Regions from separate parts of the Homo sapiens genome. Here regions 1, 3 and 4 are each linked to region 2. The links are contacts of gene promoters, found by promoter capture Hi-C in human tissues and cell types (Jung and others, 2019). All regions are on one chromosome and are shown on one strand. The core of a region is centred on a gene start or on the middle of the fragment in contact, and the rest is flanking DNA. Distances in the headings are between cores, read along the strand shown.

Evidence for each region. Contacts are between HindIII fragments. The study calls those that stand out against the background at their distance.
Region 1: a contact is called between a fragment that was not itself captured here and the fragment with the promoter of RPS6 in region 2, in 1 of the 25 tissues and cell types used here (thymus).
Region 3: a contact is called between a fragment that was not itself captured here and the fragment with the promoter of RPS6 in region 2, in 2 of the 25 tissues and cell types used here (lymphoblastoid cells and mesenchymal stem cells).
Region 4: a contact is called between a fragment that was not itself captured here and the fragment with the promoter of RPS6 in region 2, in 1 of the 25 tissues and cell types used here (dorsolateral prefrontal cortex).

Annotation. Positions count from the first base shown.
Region 1 is chr9:19,323,018-19,327,103 of GRCh38, forward strand. DENND4C (DENN domain containing 4C) reads left to right here. Exons shown (of 33, transcript NM_001330640.2): 13 at 1,345-1,490; 14 at 2,922-2,957; 15 at 3,047-3,177. Among named protein-coding and RNA genes, the nearest start is that of RPS6, 55 kb to the right of the region's middle. The HindIII fragment of the contact is 4,100 bases long and covers 1-3,654 here.
Region 2 is chr9:19,378,883-19,382,878 of GRCh38, forward strand. RPS6 (ribosomal protein S6) reads right to left here and starts at 1,354. Exons shown (of 6, transcript NM_001010.3): 1 at 1,308-1,354; 2 at 605-736; 3 at 1-36. The coding sequence starts at 1,313. RefSeq lists an enhancer at 669-1,868. The HindIII fragment of the contact is 6,896 bases long and covers 1-3,996 here.
Region 3 is chr9:19,343,462-19,347,485 of GRCh38, forward strand. It overlaps DENND4C (DENN domain containing 4C), which reads left to right. Exons shown (of 33, transcript NM_001330640.2): 23 at 2,460-3,625. Among named protein-coding and RNA genes, the nearest start is that of RPS6, 35 kb to the right of the region's middle. The HindIII fragment of the contact is 5,809 bases long and covers 1-4,024 here.
Region 4 is chr9:19,422,320-19,426,075 of GRCh38, forward strand. ACER2 (alkaline ceramidase 2) reads left to right here. Exons shown (of 6, transcript NM_001010887.3): 2 at 1,543-1,657; 3 at 2,381-2,522. Among named protein-coding and RNA genes, the nearest start is that of ACER2, 15 kb to the left of the region's middle. The HindIII fragment of the contact is 3,219 bases long and covers 262-3,480 here.

The DNA.
Region 1 (4,086 bases), core at 355-2,854, 56 kb before region 2:
ATGAAGGCTGGGCATGATGGCTCATGCCTGTAATTCTAGCACTTTGGGAGGCTGAGATGGGAGGATCACTTGAGGCCAGGAATTCGAGACCAGCCTTGTCAACATAGCAAGACACCCATCTCTTAAAAGAAAAGAGGCTAGGTGCAGTGGCTCACGCCTGTAATCCCAGAACTTTGGGAGGCCAAGGCGGGCTGATCACCTGAGGTCCGTTCAAGACCAGCCTGGCCAACATGGTGAAACCGTCTCTACTAAAAATACAAAAATTAGCCAGTCGTGGTGATGGGCACCTGTAATCCCAGCTACTCAGGAGGCTGAGGCAGGAGAATCACTTAAACCTGGGAGGCAGAGGTTGCAGTGAGCCAAGATCACATTACTGCACTCCAGCCTGGGCGACAGAGCTAGACTCTGTCTGGAAAAAAAAAAAAAAAGGAATGAAGAAGAATCTAAAGTGTTTTCATGGTTTGTGCTTCTGGGTGTGGAAGAATGATGGTGGTAGGAATTAGAAAGGAGGAGACCTTGAATCAGATGCCTTGGTCTTCAGTGAATGAAGGAGTGTCCCTGAAATCAATAGATGTCTACGATTAATAGAGGAAATTGTGGAATAGTCAGATGCTTGAAACTTTAATGAGCAGAAATTTTAAAAACACAATACAGAAATAATGGTCTTGCAACATTAAAGAGGAAGGACATTGACTCTTTGGAAATTGACCATGGACTCAAGAGTATGCAGAGTATCAGAGAAATTTCTACTTAAAAGTTGTAGAGCTGGAGGTTCCTTATAGGGGATTTAGATTTCAGTGAAGAGTTTGATAGAAGTATTTTTCGTGGTTTAATTAGGCAGAAGGAGCTATATATGCAGTTACCACAGGTTGAGCTTCCCTAATCTAAAAATCCAAAACCTGAGATGCTGCAGAATCTGAAACTTTCTGAGGGCTGACATTATGCCACAAGTGGAAAATTCTACACGTAAGTACTTAACACACACTTTGTTTCATGCACAAGATCATTGAAAATATTGTATAACATTCCCTTCAGACTGTGTGTATAATGTATATGTGAAACATAAATGAATTTCCTGTTTACTTGGGTCTCATCCCCAAGATATGTGATTGTGCACATGCAAATATTTCAAAATCTTAAAAAAAAAAATCCGAAATCTGAAACACTTTTGGTCCCAAGCATTTCAGATAAGAGATACTCAACCTATAGAAGCTTCTTTTTAAATATGGATATATATATGTATATATAAAGAGAATGTAATATAGATAAGTACAAGTTTAATGTTTCCTATAATATCGAATTCCAGTTTAAAATTTGAATTTAATTATATTTTGTTTTCCTCAGGATTTTTAAAAAGTCGAGATCGTGCCTATGCAAAATTCTATACCCTTTTATCCAAAACACAGATTTTTATTCGTTTCATTGAAGAATGCAGTTTTGTAAGTGATAAAGATACTGGATTAGCATTTTTTGATGACTGCATAGAAAAGGTAAAAGTTTGTACTTATACTAGTGTTTAGAAAAAAAAGTTTGCCTTACCTGTGTAATTATCATTGTTATTGTTAGTCTAGAGTGATATAAGGAAAACAGAGTAGGGTTGTGTATGTGTGTGTATGTGTTACCGATTCTGGGCTGAATATATGAATAAAATTCTTTGTGGTTTCAAGTTTCTACCACATATAGCCAATTTTTCTATTCTTTATTCATTGATCCATTGATTGAAACAGCATCTCATTCTGTTACCCAGGCTAGGGTGCAGTGGCATGATCATAGCTCATTGCAACTTTGAACTTCTTGCCTGAAGTGATTTTACCACCTTAGCCTTCTGAGTAGCTGGGACTACAGGCATGTGCTACGCCCAGCTAGTTTTTTTAATTTTTGGTAGAGATGAGGTCTCACTGTATTGCCCAGGCTGGTCTCAAACTCCTGGGCTCAAGTGATCCTCCCGCCTTGGCCTCCCAAATCCTTGGGATTGCAGGATGAGCCGCCATGCCCAGCCAGTAAATTTTCTCTTTAAATCTCACTTTCGTTTTACAACTATTGAGTTGTAAAACTAAGAACATTTTCTTGAGCCTTGTGAGTTTATATTTTTTTAATTTAAATGAATAAGATTTAGTTTAAGATTTAGGTTTTTTAATTAAAAAATGTTTAGTTTTATGGGTAATAGAAGTTCTATGTTCTTTTGTTTTAATGTCTTTCCAGATTCTTTTGCCTAATATGTTTCTTTTGTTCTAATGGAGGGTGGAAATACGTTAAATTTTAAAGCTTTACCCACCCATCCTAAGGAAGTTAAAATTGATTCTTGACTTAGTTATAATTTTTCCTAACTTTTAATATAATTCTTATTTTTGCTAAGTAGATCTTGGGGCCAATTGTTTATGCAAACTGTATATTATATAACATTTGAGATTGTATCCAAAAAAAGTTGAATATTATGACATTAATTTTTATGGCCCCCTCATGATTCATATGCCTTAGAAGATTTAAATAATTTTCTCCTATCAGTGTGATCCAAAATTCCAGGGATATAATTAAAACTATTCAACATTTTTGTTTATTTACAAAATTGATATTCCAGTATCTTCCAGTTATATGAGAAGTTTAATGTCAATCACTAATAAAGGGGCTTAATAATAATGAAATTTTTTATTTGAGAAGCCAGATAACCTTGTGATTGGTCATCTTTTGTCTTAAGGTTTACAAAACAACTAATCAAAATAGTTTTCTATCCTAATAGCCACAAGTAAAAAATTATGCTTTAGCCTAAGAGTATGTATTCAGCCTAAAAATATACTGTGCATGTTTTGTATCAGCTGGTACTGAAAAGGGGTAGTTTTTTTCTAAATCAGAATGTAAGATAAAAATGTCTATTAAATTCATAGTGGACATTTTCATTAAGAATCTGTTTTCTTTTTTTCTAGTTGTTTCCTGATAAAGGCACAGAGAAAACAGATAAGGTATGTTTTTCTTAGATTTTAAGGGTTGAAATTTCAGAATTAGATCTTGTTTGTATGCAAATTAATTGGGGAAAAATAATGATTTTCAGGTTGATTTTGATTCAGCAGAAGATACCAGATTGATAGAACTAGATGATTCACAGAAAAGTGAGCATACTGTATTTATAATGCCGCCAGAGCCACCTCCTGATGATGGAAAGGACCTGTCACCAAAGTACAGGTAGTAGGAAGTTTTAAAAGAGCTTAATGGCACAGCCTATCAGTTTCTTTTAATTTTTATTAGTAGATATGTATATTAGTCTTTTGTGAAACTCATTTTCAGTATTAGTTCAGTGAACTAATGTAGATAAATATTTTATGGAAATGCCACTAGGTGTTATAATTTAAGAATTGGATGGTATTGTCAGATGTTGATCATTGTTTACCTTAGTGTTTGTATTTTAATCTTTAAAAGTTTCAATTCTGAAGAAGAAAAATGATACTTTTATGAGGCTCCCTGCTCCCTTTGGGAGTTTCATTTTGAAACAAAGACTGTGAAATTCTTATGAATTAGTAATTTACCAAGAAAACTTAAGGTAGAGGGCCAGGAATTTATTCTTTATTAAGATAAAGGATAGGATTTGGATGTGACTCTTTTAAGAAATTAGAATGGATTTTGTAGTTTTTTTATTGCTATAAATTTAATAAACTTAGAAAATCAAACCAAAATGGAAAACTAATACATCATTCTAGCACCAATACTTGTGTCTCTTAACAATTGTAGGTATGTATGTATCATGTGGATGTGTGTGTGTATGTATTGCATGTATGAGTTCATCAGGTAGATTCTCTTTGTAATCTATGTTTGCCTTTAGTGGTCTGAACATTTTCCCATGCCATTAAATATTTTTGTGCCTTATCATTTGTAATGACCACATTGTATGCATTTATTATGATTTATTTAACTAGCCTCATGGATTTGTTTGTAGTTCTTTGCTATCTATATCTTTGTTATTTTCTTAGGCTGCATTTCTAAAAGAATTTCTAAAATAGAAAGTAAAGTAAGTACATCCCAAAATAGAGAATTAATGTATAATATCAAGAGGACTGGATCAGAATGAGGAATGTATCTGGGATTGAATGGCTTGAT
Region 2 (3,996 bases), core at 104-2,603:
TTTGTCGTTCCCACCACTGATTCGGACCACATAACCCTGCAAGAGCATACAATGAATGACACATTTACTATTTCTATTCCAAAATTATACAGTACAGGATTGTGACCTCTGTGAACACACCTATATGAGAAAGTATAATTATGAAAACCAATTTGAACTTAAGCACGTTTTCTCTGTTCAGTGAGTTTTGTCTATATTCCCAACTTGTCAAGTTCAATTATCAAATGTCTTTCAAGTCGCATTTCTAACCGATGTTTTATTAGAGATAACAGCACTAAGAAGATAAAATATCAAACAGCAACAAACAAATCAGATACAACCCTTTTTGGCACTTTGGGGATTATGAGGACAGCTATGTGACATATTGCCAAATGCATGATGCAGGGCAAGAATTATGTTGATGTAAACTTTACGTATATTTTATGGCTTACTCTACGTCCCCCCCTCCAAGGTAATACCTCTAACTTTATAAAGTGGCATTCGGAAGCAACTTACCAAAGGTCAGAAGCCAGAACCCGGAGTCTGAACCCCATTCCAAATACCAGTTACCAATGGCGTTTACCGTCTCTGACTTAAATACCTGCAACAATTTGTCAACTTTTACCTTCCATTCTTCACCCAGAGCGTCAGCAGCAACTTCTGTGGCCATACGCTTCTCATAGAAAGTACGAAGTTTGCGTTCATCGTCCACTTCAATGAGTTTCTGGCAGCCAGTGGCTGGGAAGGAGATGTTCAGCTAAGGATTAAAAGGGGGGAAATAGTTTACGAAACTATCTATACAGGTAATTGTAGAGCCATCTACAAAGTTAATTCCACTGCAAAAAGCCTTTCATGTTGCCTCCACACAAGCAGGAAATATAAGATGCCGACTGTACTCACTAAAAGCACGTGAAAGCAGAGTAGCAGTCAAGAAGCGCCGCACTCAGCAGGACGTTTTCCCCTCAAGCCCCGCGGAATGACTCTGGGGGCGAGGGCACTCCGCAGCCGTTCACCCTCCCGAAGCAAGAAAGCCGGGGTCAAGAGCCGCACCACAGGCCTGCCGCAAACTGGGCAACACGCCGCATCCGTCCCGGCTGGGCGCGGGGACGCCACCATGGCGCTCCCGGCCCGCCGCGGCTCCAGCCGCAATCGCCTGCCATCCGTTCGGCCAAAAAGCTCCATGCCCCAGAAAGGCGAGCCTTCTCCTACTTGAGACCCTTCTCCACCTAAAGCCAGGATCCTGGAGTGCTGGAACTGAGGCAATGCCGCGTTCTGGGACTCGATTCACGTTCCCCAAACCCAGTCTAACACTCGCCACCATCACCTACCTTCATCTTGAAGCAGCTGAACGCCTCCGAGGCGCCACGGAAAAGAGGGCCAACTTCCGCTTAGCGCAGGTCACATAGGCGCTTTCAGTTCTCGCGAGATGAGCAGAAGTACGGGATAGCGGAAGTGAGCATGGGTGGGCGGTACTTCCGGGCGAGATTAATCAGGGCCTGGGAGGTAAAGTCGGTTGGGTGTGGGTCTGAGGTTGTGCCAGTGGTGGTAGTCTGGTAAGGCAAACCCGCGTGTAATTCTGAGGGCTAACCCCTTCCCTGTCTAGTCTTTTCCACGCTGCCTGGGTTTTGGAGCTGGGCGCCAGCGGAGCCCCACTTCTGTCCCAGGCACTTTGCATCTGACGGTACCAAAATAGGAGGGCAAGGCCGGGCGCGGTGGCTCACGCCTGTAATCCCAGCACTTTGGGAGGCCGAGGCGGGCGGATCATCTTAGGTCAGGAGTTCGAGACCAGCCTGGCCAACATGGCGAAACTCCGTCTCTAATAAAAATAGGTAAAATAGCCAAAAATAGGTAAAATAGCCAGGCGTGGTGGGGGGCGACTGTAGTCCCAGTTACTAGGGAGGCTGAGGCACGACAATCGCTTGAGCCCAAGAGGCGGAGGTTGCAATGAGTCCAGATCGCACCACTGCACTGCAGCCCAGGCGACAGAGAGAGACTCCGCCTCAAAAAAGTTCGAGTTCGAGACCAAGTAAACAAGAATAATTTTTACTATCTAAAACTATCACATACCATCTCCCCACTTTAGTGTCACAAAGGTTTGAGTTTAGGACTGTTTTACATTCGAAGTTGAACGATTCTACTGAATCCTCTTTGATCATCTCACATTAATTCATGGAATCTTGGTGAAATGATGCTTTTTAAAATCTGAGTACTGTGTGTCATTTTTTTGTTGAGGTGAAATTGACATAACTAGTCATTTTAAAGTGAACAATTCAGTGGCATTTAGTACATTCACAATGCTGTACAACCACCATCTCTATCGATACAGTTCCAAAACATTTTCATCATCCTAAAAGAAAACCCTGTACCCTGTTAAAGCAGTTGCTGCCCCTTCCCCATTTCGACCAGGCCTGGCAACCACCAATCTGTGTTCTGTCTCAGTGGATGTACCTACTTCATAAAAATGGAATCATACAATATTGACCTTTTGTATCTGTCTTCTAATCTTTTGAGTCGTAGCATGTATCAGTACTTCACTGCTTTTATGGCTCAATATTCTAGTGTAGATATAGACTGCAGTTTGTTTATCCATTCCTCCATAAATAGACATTTGGGTTGTTTCTGCCTTTTAACTACTGTAAATAGTTCTTCTATGTTTGAGTACTTGTTTTAAATTATTTTAGGTATATACCTAAGAGTGAAATTGCTGGGTCATATAGTAGTTCTATTCTCAACTCAGGGAGAAACTGAAACTGTATTCCAAAGCAGCTGAACCATTTTACATTCCCACCGGCAATGTATGAGGACCGCACTTTATCAAAATCATGGCCAACACTTGTTATTTTTTTAATTTTTTAAAAATTTATTGTAGGGACAGGGTCTCGCTTTGTTGCTCAAAGTGAGATCCTGTTGGTCTGGAACTCTTGGCCTCCAGCATCCTCCTGTCTCAGCCTCTGGAGTAGCTGAGACTCATTGTGGTTTTGATTTGCATTTCCCTAATGACTAATGATGTTGAGCATGTTTTAATGTGTTTGTTGGCCATTTGTATATCTTCTTTAGAGAAAAGTCTGTACAAGCTCTTAGCTCCCCCTGTTATTTTTATTGAAGTAGTGGGAGTAAATTAATGTGAGGCAAAGAGAAAGTCTAGAACTATGGGCTAGTTTTTTTTGTTTGTTTTTCCTTTTAAAAATATTTTAGGGTGGCCAAATGCAGTGGCTCACACCAGTAATCCAGACGCTTTAGGACGCTGAGATGGGAGGATCTCTTGAGGCCAGGAGTTTGAGATCAGCCTGGGCAAACATAGTGTCACCCTGTCTCATTTAAAAAAAAATTTTAATGCGTTTTTAATTGTGGGTAAAAAACATATAACACAAAATGTATCATCTTAACCATTTTGAAGTGTACACTTCTGTAATGTTAAATATATTAACATTGTTGTAAAATAGATCTCCAGAACTTTTTCATCTTGCGAAATGGGAACTTCATACTCATTAAACAACTCCTTTCCCCCTACCCACGGCTTTTGGTAACCATTCTACTTTCTGTCTCTATGATTTTCACTAAGCATCTCATATAAATGGAATCAAACAGTAGTAGTTGTCTTTTTGTGACTGGCTTATGTCATTTAACATAATGTTCTCAAGGTTCATCCATGTTATAGCATGTGACAGGATTTCCTTCTCTTTTAAGGCTGAATAATACTCTGTTGCATGTATATACTACATTTTGTTTAACCATTCGTCTGTCAATGGACATTTTGGTTGTTTCCACCTCTTGGCTGTTGTAAATAATGCTGATATGAACATGGGTGTGCAAATATCTCTTAGAGACAGACCCTGTTTTCAATTCTTTTGGCTATCTATCCAGAAGTGGGACTGCTGGATCACGTTAGTTCTATTTTGAATTTTTTGAGGAACCTCTATACTGTTTTACATATGGCTGTACCAATTTACAGTCCCACCAACAGTACACAAGGGTTCTTTGCCTTTTTTTTTTTTTTTTTTTTTTGAGATGGAGTCT
Region 3 (4,024 bases), core at 191-2,690, 35 kb before region 2:
ACTGTCTTGTCTGAAAATGTATCTATTGTATGACTGTACAGAAATTAATTTGTTCAGCTTCTTAAACCAATGTAAAAGTACTCCTTGTTCTTAAAGTCTTTTCTCTTTGTATTTACCGTGACTCCGAGTTTCACTCATTACTTGTTTGGGTAGTGCTCAAGAGGTGGGGCTAAAGATTTTTTGAGAAAATAATTGATATATACATTGCAGATTCCATTTTCCTAACCTCTTGATAGCAGAGATACTGGGGAAAAGGAGGGAAGAGTTTTCTTCGTCAGAGGCTTAGAATCCTCTCAAAATATTGAACTGGACATCGTCTGTGGACTGTTGTGTTTCCTTCCCTTTTAACTTATTTTCATATTAAGAACGAAGGGCGAGGATAATGGGGCTTTTGTCAGTATAGCAAATTTTTTTTAAAAAACATTGAATAAAATGTGCCGTTAAATTCCTTGGAAATACTATGAGAACCAATAATATTTGCAAGGATTTGTTTCTCAAATATTGGGACCAGCTTTCAAAGCAGGTACATATTTTGAGTTGTAAAATAGGTTAGTTTAATTCCCGTGAAGGCTTAAAAGAATATCTCTAAATGCTTATTCTGATTAATTGATATGATTATCAGTACTAACTTGAAAGATTAAAAAGAACCTTGAAATCAATCTTGAAGTTTAAAAGAAAGATCTTATCTAAGACAGCTTTTTTCCTTGAAGCACCCAGATATTGTTATGCTTTTTAACAAAACAAATGATGTGACTACAGTAAAAAGCAATGGATAAAAAAGAAAACGAAGGAAAAGAAAAACACAAATGAGAATCCTAAATATGAATAACTCAGGCTGCTATACAGTTCCACAGACTAGGTGACTTATAAACAACAGAAATTTATTTCTGCCGGGCTCAGTGGCTCATGCCTGTAATCCCAGCAATTTGGCAGGCTGGAGGGAAAGATCGCTTGAGGCCAGGAGATTGAGGCTGTAGTGAGCCATGATTGCACCACTGTACTCTCCACCCTAGGTGACAGAGCAAGACCCTAACTTTGTTTGTTTGTTTTTGAGACAGACTCTCACTCTGTCGCCTAGGCTGGAGTGTAGTGGCACAGTCATGGCTCACTGCAGCCTCAACTTCCTGGGCTCAGGCAATTGAGGATTCTCCCGCCTCAGACCCCCAAGTAGCTGGGACTACAGGCGAATGCCACCACATCTGGCTAATTTTTGTATTTTTTTGCGGAGACAGGGTTTCTCCATGTTGCCCAGGCTGGTCTCGAGCTCCTGAGCTCAGGTGATCCGCCTGCCTCAGCCTCCCAAAGTGCTGGGATTACAGGTGTGAGCCACCATGCCCGGCATAACCCTAACTTAAAAAAAAATAAAAGAAAGAAATTTATTTCTTATAGTTCTAGGGGCTGGAAAGTCCAGGGTTAGGGTGTTAGCATGGTGAGTTCTGCAGAGGGCCCTCTTCCAGGTTGCAGAGTGCTAACTTATTGTATCCTCGTACAGCAGAGAAGGAGAGAGCTCTCCTTTAAGGGCTCTAATCCCATTCATCAGGGTTCCACTTTCATGATCAAATTATCTTTCAAAGGCCCTGCCTCCTAATACTGTCACACTGAGGGTTAGGATTTTAGCATGTGGATTTTGGCGGACACAAACATTCAGTCCATAACAGGTAGACTTAAGTTCTAATAATGATTCAAATAGGAAATAACAGCTTTTGGTCTTGGAGTGAAACAAATTGCATGGTAGCCAAGAGTAAAAGACTGCTTTCTTTTTCCAAAGCTGGGGGAAGCTGCTATGGCCATTAGCATATTTTTTCTCTACCTGATCAAATAAGACTGACTTCTGTGAAGGCTAGGATTATGTCTGTTTTATTTGCCTTTATATTCCTAGCACCTCATATAGTGGCTACTAGTAGACGTTTAGTATTTGTTGAAGAAATGGATATATCTGAATAATTTTTTAACCACTCAGATTTTATCAGCCTTCTTAGAATTTGCCAGTGCTAAGCATTCCATTCCGGATTATTTTACTTTACAGCAGTAAGACTTTGAGTATAGCAAATATACAATTCCTATAAGATTACAAATTTGCTTTTTGCAGAGTAGATTACTGGCAAGTATTTGTTGAATTGGATACAAAACTAAGATGGAAGAGATTCTTTCTTTTTCTGTATTTTAGTGAAGAACACAGGTATATCCATCTATCATATGTTGCATGATTTGTTTTTTTAAATGGGTGTTTATATAAATATAGGATGAAAGACAGGTTATACATTAAAATGTCCCTGGGAGGCAAGTTTTAAATAGCTTTTCCAGTGCACTTTTTTTTATACTTTCTTTATGGCCTCTAAATTTTCTGGATCTTTTATTCTGAGTATATGTCACATTCATAATCAGGAAAACAATAAATATTTTAATAAAAGTTAACTTGGAAAATAGGTTCATTGTTAATATTTTACTTTCCCTTTTAGGTAGTATATCAAATGTGCTGTTTTCTACTCAAGATCCAGTTGAAGATGCAGTCTTTGGCGAAGCTACTAATCTCAAGAAGAATGGTGATAGAGGAGAAAAAAGACAAAAGCATTTTCCTGAGAGGAGTTGTAGTTTTAGTTCTGAAAGTCGAGCAGGAATGTTGCTTAAGAAGAGTAGTTTGGATTCGAATTCAAGTGAAATGGCTATCATGATGGGAGCAGATGCCAAGATTCTCACAGCAGCATTGACATGTCCTAAGACTTCTCTACTTCATATTGCAAGAACCCATAGCTTTGAGAATGTTAGCTGTCACCTACCTGATAGTAGGACTTGTATGTCTGAAAGCACTTGGAATCCTGAGCACAGATCATCTCCGGTGCCAGAGATGCTTGAGGAAAGCCAAGAACTCCTTGAGCCTGTGGTTGATGACGTACCTAAAACTACTGCAACAGTAGATACATATGAGAGTCTACTAAGTGATAGTAACAGTAATCAGTCCAGAGACTTGAAAACAGTATCCAAAGATCTGAGGAATAAGAGAAGTAGTTTATATGGTATTGCTAAGGTGGTTCAGAGGGAAGATGTTGAAACTGGACTAGATCCTTTGTCTCTTTTAGCCACTGAATGTACAGGAGGAAAAACTCCTGATTCTGAAGATAAGTTGTTTTCTCCAGTTATTGCACGTAATCTGGCTGATGAAATAGAAAGCTATATGAACCTAAAAAGTCCCCTAGGTAGTAAATCTTCTAGTATGGAATTACACAGAGAGGAAAACAGAGAGTCTGGCATGACTACTGCATTTATTCATGCTCTAGAGAGGAGATCAAGCCTACCTTTAGATCATGGTTCACCAGCACAGGAAAATCCTGAAAGTGAAAAGAGCTCACCTGCAGTGTCCAGGTCTAAAACTTTTACTGGGCGTTTCAAGCAGCAAACCCCCTCTCGAACTCATAAAGAACGTTCAACTTCTTTGTCAGCACTGGTGCGTTCTTCGCCACATGGCTCGTTGGGTTCTGTAGTAAATTCTTTGTCAGGGCTAAAGCTGGATAATATACTCTCAGGGCCCAAGATAGATGTCCTGAAATCTGGTATGAAACAAGCAGCGACAGTAGCCAGTAAGATGTGGGTAGCTGTTGCGTCTGCCTACAGCTACTCAGATGATGAGGTAAGAAAGCTTTATGTGTGTAGTCTGTCTGCTATTGGAGTGTTTATAGTATCTTTCTAGAAATATATGTATTCTTGTTCAGAGATTTCTGTGCCCAGGCTGGAGTACAGTGGCATGATTTTGGCTGTCTGCAACCTCTGCCTCCCGGCTTTGAGCGATTCTCTTGCCTGAGTAGTTGGGTCTATAGGGGTGTGCCACCATGCCCAGCTAATTTTTGTATTTTTAGTAGAGATGAGGTTTCACCATGTTGGCCAGGCTGGTCTTGAACTCCTCACCTCAGGTGATCCAACTGCATCAGCCTCCCAAAGTGCTGGGATTACAGGCATGAGCCACCATGCCTGGCTGATTTCTGGTAACTTTGGTTTTTATATTTTGCATAGTCTATCTAATATAGAATAG
Region 4 (3,756 bases), core at 621-3,120, 44 kb after region 2:
TATCTCATTAATGATATTTAATAGTGATTACATGTTCAAATGACAATATTTTGAATACATTGCATTAAATAAGATAGATTATTAAAATTTTTAAAAAGTTGAATGCCCATGGAGACATAACAGAGAGGCTTAAATCCATACCAAAATCTGCAAGATAAAATAATATCATTTTAAAGCTGGGAAGAAACTTTCAAATATAATCTTTACTTAAAAATAGGTTTTGGTTAGGATGGGAAAGCTGACAAAGGGCAACGAAGGGGGAAACTAGAAAGAGTCCTCGCTTTGTGTAGGCACAGGGGAAAAGGCTGGCTTGGCTGGGGAGGATTATTGGGAGCTGGACAATGTCCAGTCTTTTTTACGCCTTCATTAAACTTTTTTTTTTTTTTAACCATTATTTAATACAGACCTTATCTTTAAAAACACAAAAGCAGGCGGGCGCAGTGGCTCATGCCTATAATCCCAGAACTTTGGGAGGCCTGAGACGAGTGGATCACCTGAGGTCAGGAGTTTGAGACCAGCCTGGCCAACATGGTGAAACCCCGTCTCTACTAAAAATACAAAAATTAGCTGGGTGTGGTGGTGAGCGCCTGTAATCCCAACTACTCGGGAGGCTGAGGCAGGAGAATCGCTTGAACCTGGGAGGCAGAAGTTGCAGTGAGCTGAGACTGCACCAAAGAACTCCAGCCTGGGCTGTAAGAAAGAAACTCTGTCTCAAAAAAAAAAAAAAAAAAAGTAAATGGAGCCAGGCATGGTGGCATGTACCTAGTCCCAGCTACTTGGGAGGCTGTGGTGGGAGGATCACTTCAGTCCAGCCTGGAAAACATAGCTAGACCATGTCTCTTAAAAAAGGATTGTGAAAAAAATAAGTGCAAGTAAATTAGAATGATTCATAATTAACCTTGCAATAAGAATTACTGGTTAATTCTTATTTAATTCTTAGTTAATAAGAATAAGAGAGGAGCTTGGGCAGCATCCATAGACTGCAGTGTTTTTATAGCTACTCCTATGATCAAAGAAGCAGCAGGGAGCCTCTTAAATGGTCATTTAAAAAGCTTTAAGTTCTCCTGATTGTATATCTGTAGTCAAAAGAAGTGTCAGAGGCTGGGTGTGGTGGCTTATGCCTGCAATCCCAGCACGTTGGGAGGCTGAAGCAGGCAGATCACCTGAGGTTGGGAGTTCCGAGACCAGCCCGGCCAACATGGTGAAACCTCATCTTACTAAAAATACAAAGATGAGCCAGGTATGGTGGTGGGTGCCTGTAATCCCAGCTACTCAGGAGGCTGAGGCAGGGGAATTGCTTGAACTCGGGAGGTAGAGGTTGCAGTGAGCCAAGATCGTACCACTGCATTTCAGCCTTCCAGCCTGGGTGACAGAGTGAGACTCCATCTCAAAGAGAAAAGAAAAAGAAAAAGTGCAAGAGCTTAAACGAGATGTGTGACCACATTTATCCCAGTTTGCAAGGACATACTTGGAAGAGGCCACTTTATTTTTTGCCCTTTTTACTTAATACTCATCTTTCTGTTTTACATTTTTTTCCTGCAGATCAGCAATGTCTTATTTTTCATTTTACCGCCCATCTGCATGTGCTTGTTTCGTCAGTATGCAACATGCTTCAACAGTGGCATCTACTTAATCTGGACTCTTTTGGTTGTAGTGGGTAAGTGGAGTCATTTGGGAACACGGACTTAATGGGGTGGTGGGATGGGGGTAGAAGGAATTCCACACACTTCCTCTCCCCTTTGAACATAATGTTTTGTAAACTGAAGTCACTCTGAGGTCTTAGCAAACTTTTTTTTCCCACTTGCTTGAATGCAGGCTTGATAACAAAGTTGGCATTACTGTCACTTGCGTGCATTTGAGACTTCATTTGTGTAGTAGCTATTAGGGCTATGCCAGTGCAATTTTCTGAACGTCTGAAGAAAGTCAGGTGAAACAACTGAACTCTGGGGAGGCTGGTTTCTAATGGACTAAAATTAAAGAAAAAAATGTAGATGTTTGATCCCTCATTGTTTTGTGAAATACTTGTGTCATTTCCATTTCCTCCCACAGGCAGCCTGGGAATTCTTAACAGTGAAGGAATGTTGACTTTTATTTACTGCCTCTTCCCAGAAAGGCTCAGTGGATGAAGACAGAATGCGTTTAACTGTGGAATTGTTAAAGTTCTGATGTGCTGATATTTGGGCCCTAGTTGAAATCTTCTTTCTAGACTGGAGGCATGCATGCTTGGGTGGTGTGAGTTTCTTTCTTCAGTTTCTTTTTTCAGAGAGAGAGTGATCTGGTGACTGTGTTAACCATTGGTGAAAGGACTATCCTTAAGCAGTGTATTGAATTTGTGTCTCTTCTGTGGTGACCTTTTTTTATTGGTTGTAATTGATTCTAGGAATTGGATCCGTCTACTTCCATGCAACCCTTAGTTTCTTGGGTCAGATGCTTGATGAACTTGCAGTCCTTTGGGTTCTGATGTGTGCTTTGGCCATGTGGTTCCCCAGAAGGTATCTACCAAAGATCTTTCGGAATGACCGGTAAGCTTGCACTAAACATTATTGCATTTACCACTAGGTGCAGTACCCAATATAACAATGTATATATGAAGAAAAATAGCACATGATTGAACTCAGCCTAGTGATGAGCTTATCATATACTTGTTCAATATCTACTGATTGTTTTTATGATCTGACAATATAAGTAAACTGACAGATTAAAGAGAGAATTTTAATAATGCAGAGTGCATCACCTCTCTGTACCCAAAGTACATCACCTCTCTGTACCCAGTGGTTTAAGAATTAGCAAGAGTGGAAAGACCTTCAGTGGGGGTGACATTACTGAATGCTTATTCAATACTCTTTGATTTTCTGCTACAACATTTCCTTGAGACTAATCCAACTCCACCAGTTTTATACATATGAAGTAGAATCCAGACTGATGAACTGGTTCTTGGAGCTACAGATACTGTAGTTTTCAAGTTGCCTTTTTTTTTGCTTCAGATGAGAGCTGTGCACCTGCGTGCGTGCGCGTGCACACACACACATACACACTCATATACTGTATATATGTTCAAACTGGAAACCCAGAATTTCAGGAAGGGATGCATTTTAATAGCCATTGTGTTAGGGTTATACAGGTATTCATCCAGCAAATATTTTTGAACACTTATATTTTACTGTGCATTTTGCTAGGCACTGGAATATCACAGTAAACAAAACAGCAGTCTTCCTCTAATGAGCTTACACTGAAGTTGGGGAGATTACAAATCAACAAACAAGTAAATAATATAATATTAGGATATGTTAGGTACTGTGATGAAAAGTGAAGCTGATAAGGGTATAGTGGTGACTTAGGGTGCTGATTTAGAGTTTGGTCAGAGAAAGTCTTTCTGAGGAGCTGTGTGAGGTTTGTTACTATCTAGAGGCACAGAGGAGATTCAGCCCAATGAAGATGAGAAACGCTCCTGGAACACATTACCCACATTTTCTGTAGGACACTGTTTTGTCAAAATATACATATATGGCTAAATAGTCTGAAACTATGGATTCAGTGAAGCAAACGGTATGTGCCCATGGAAGAGTTATACCAGGAAAAGAAAATAATTCATTACAGTTTTACTGGCACTCTGAAAAGGAACAGGAGCTGTGAAGCTGCTGAGGACTAAGGCTGCTGCTATCTGTGGACTCAAATGGAGAAGCGTCTATGAAAAATGCTGGCTGCAAGGGGCACATTATATAATTCTATGTGTGATATCCTAATTTTAGAATGAAT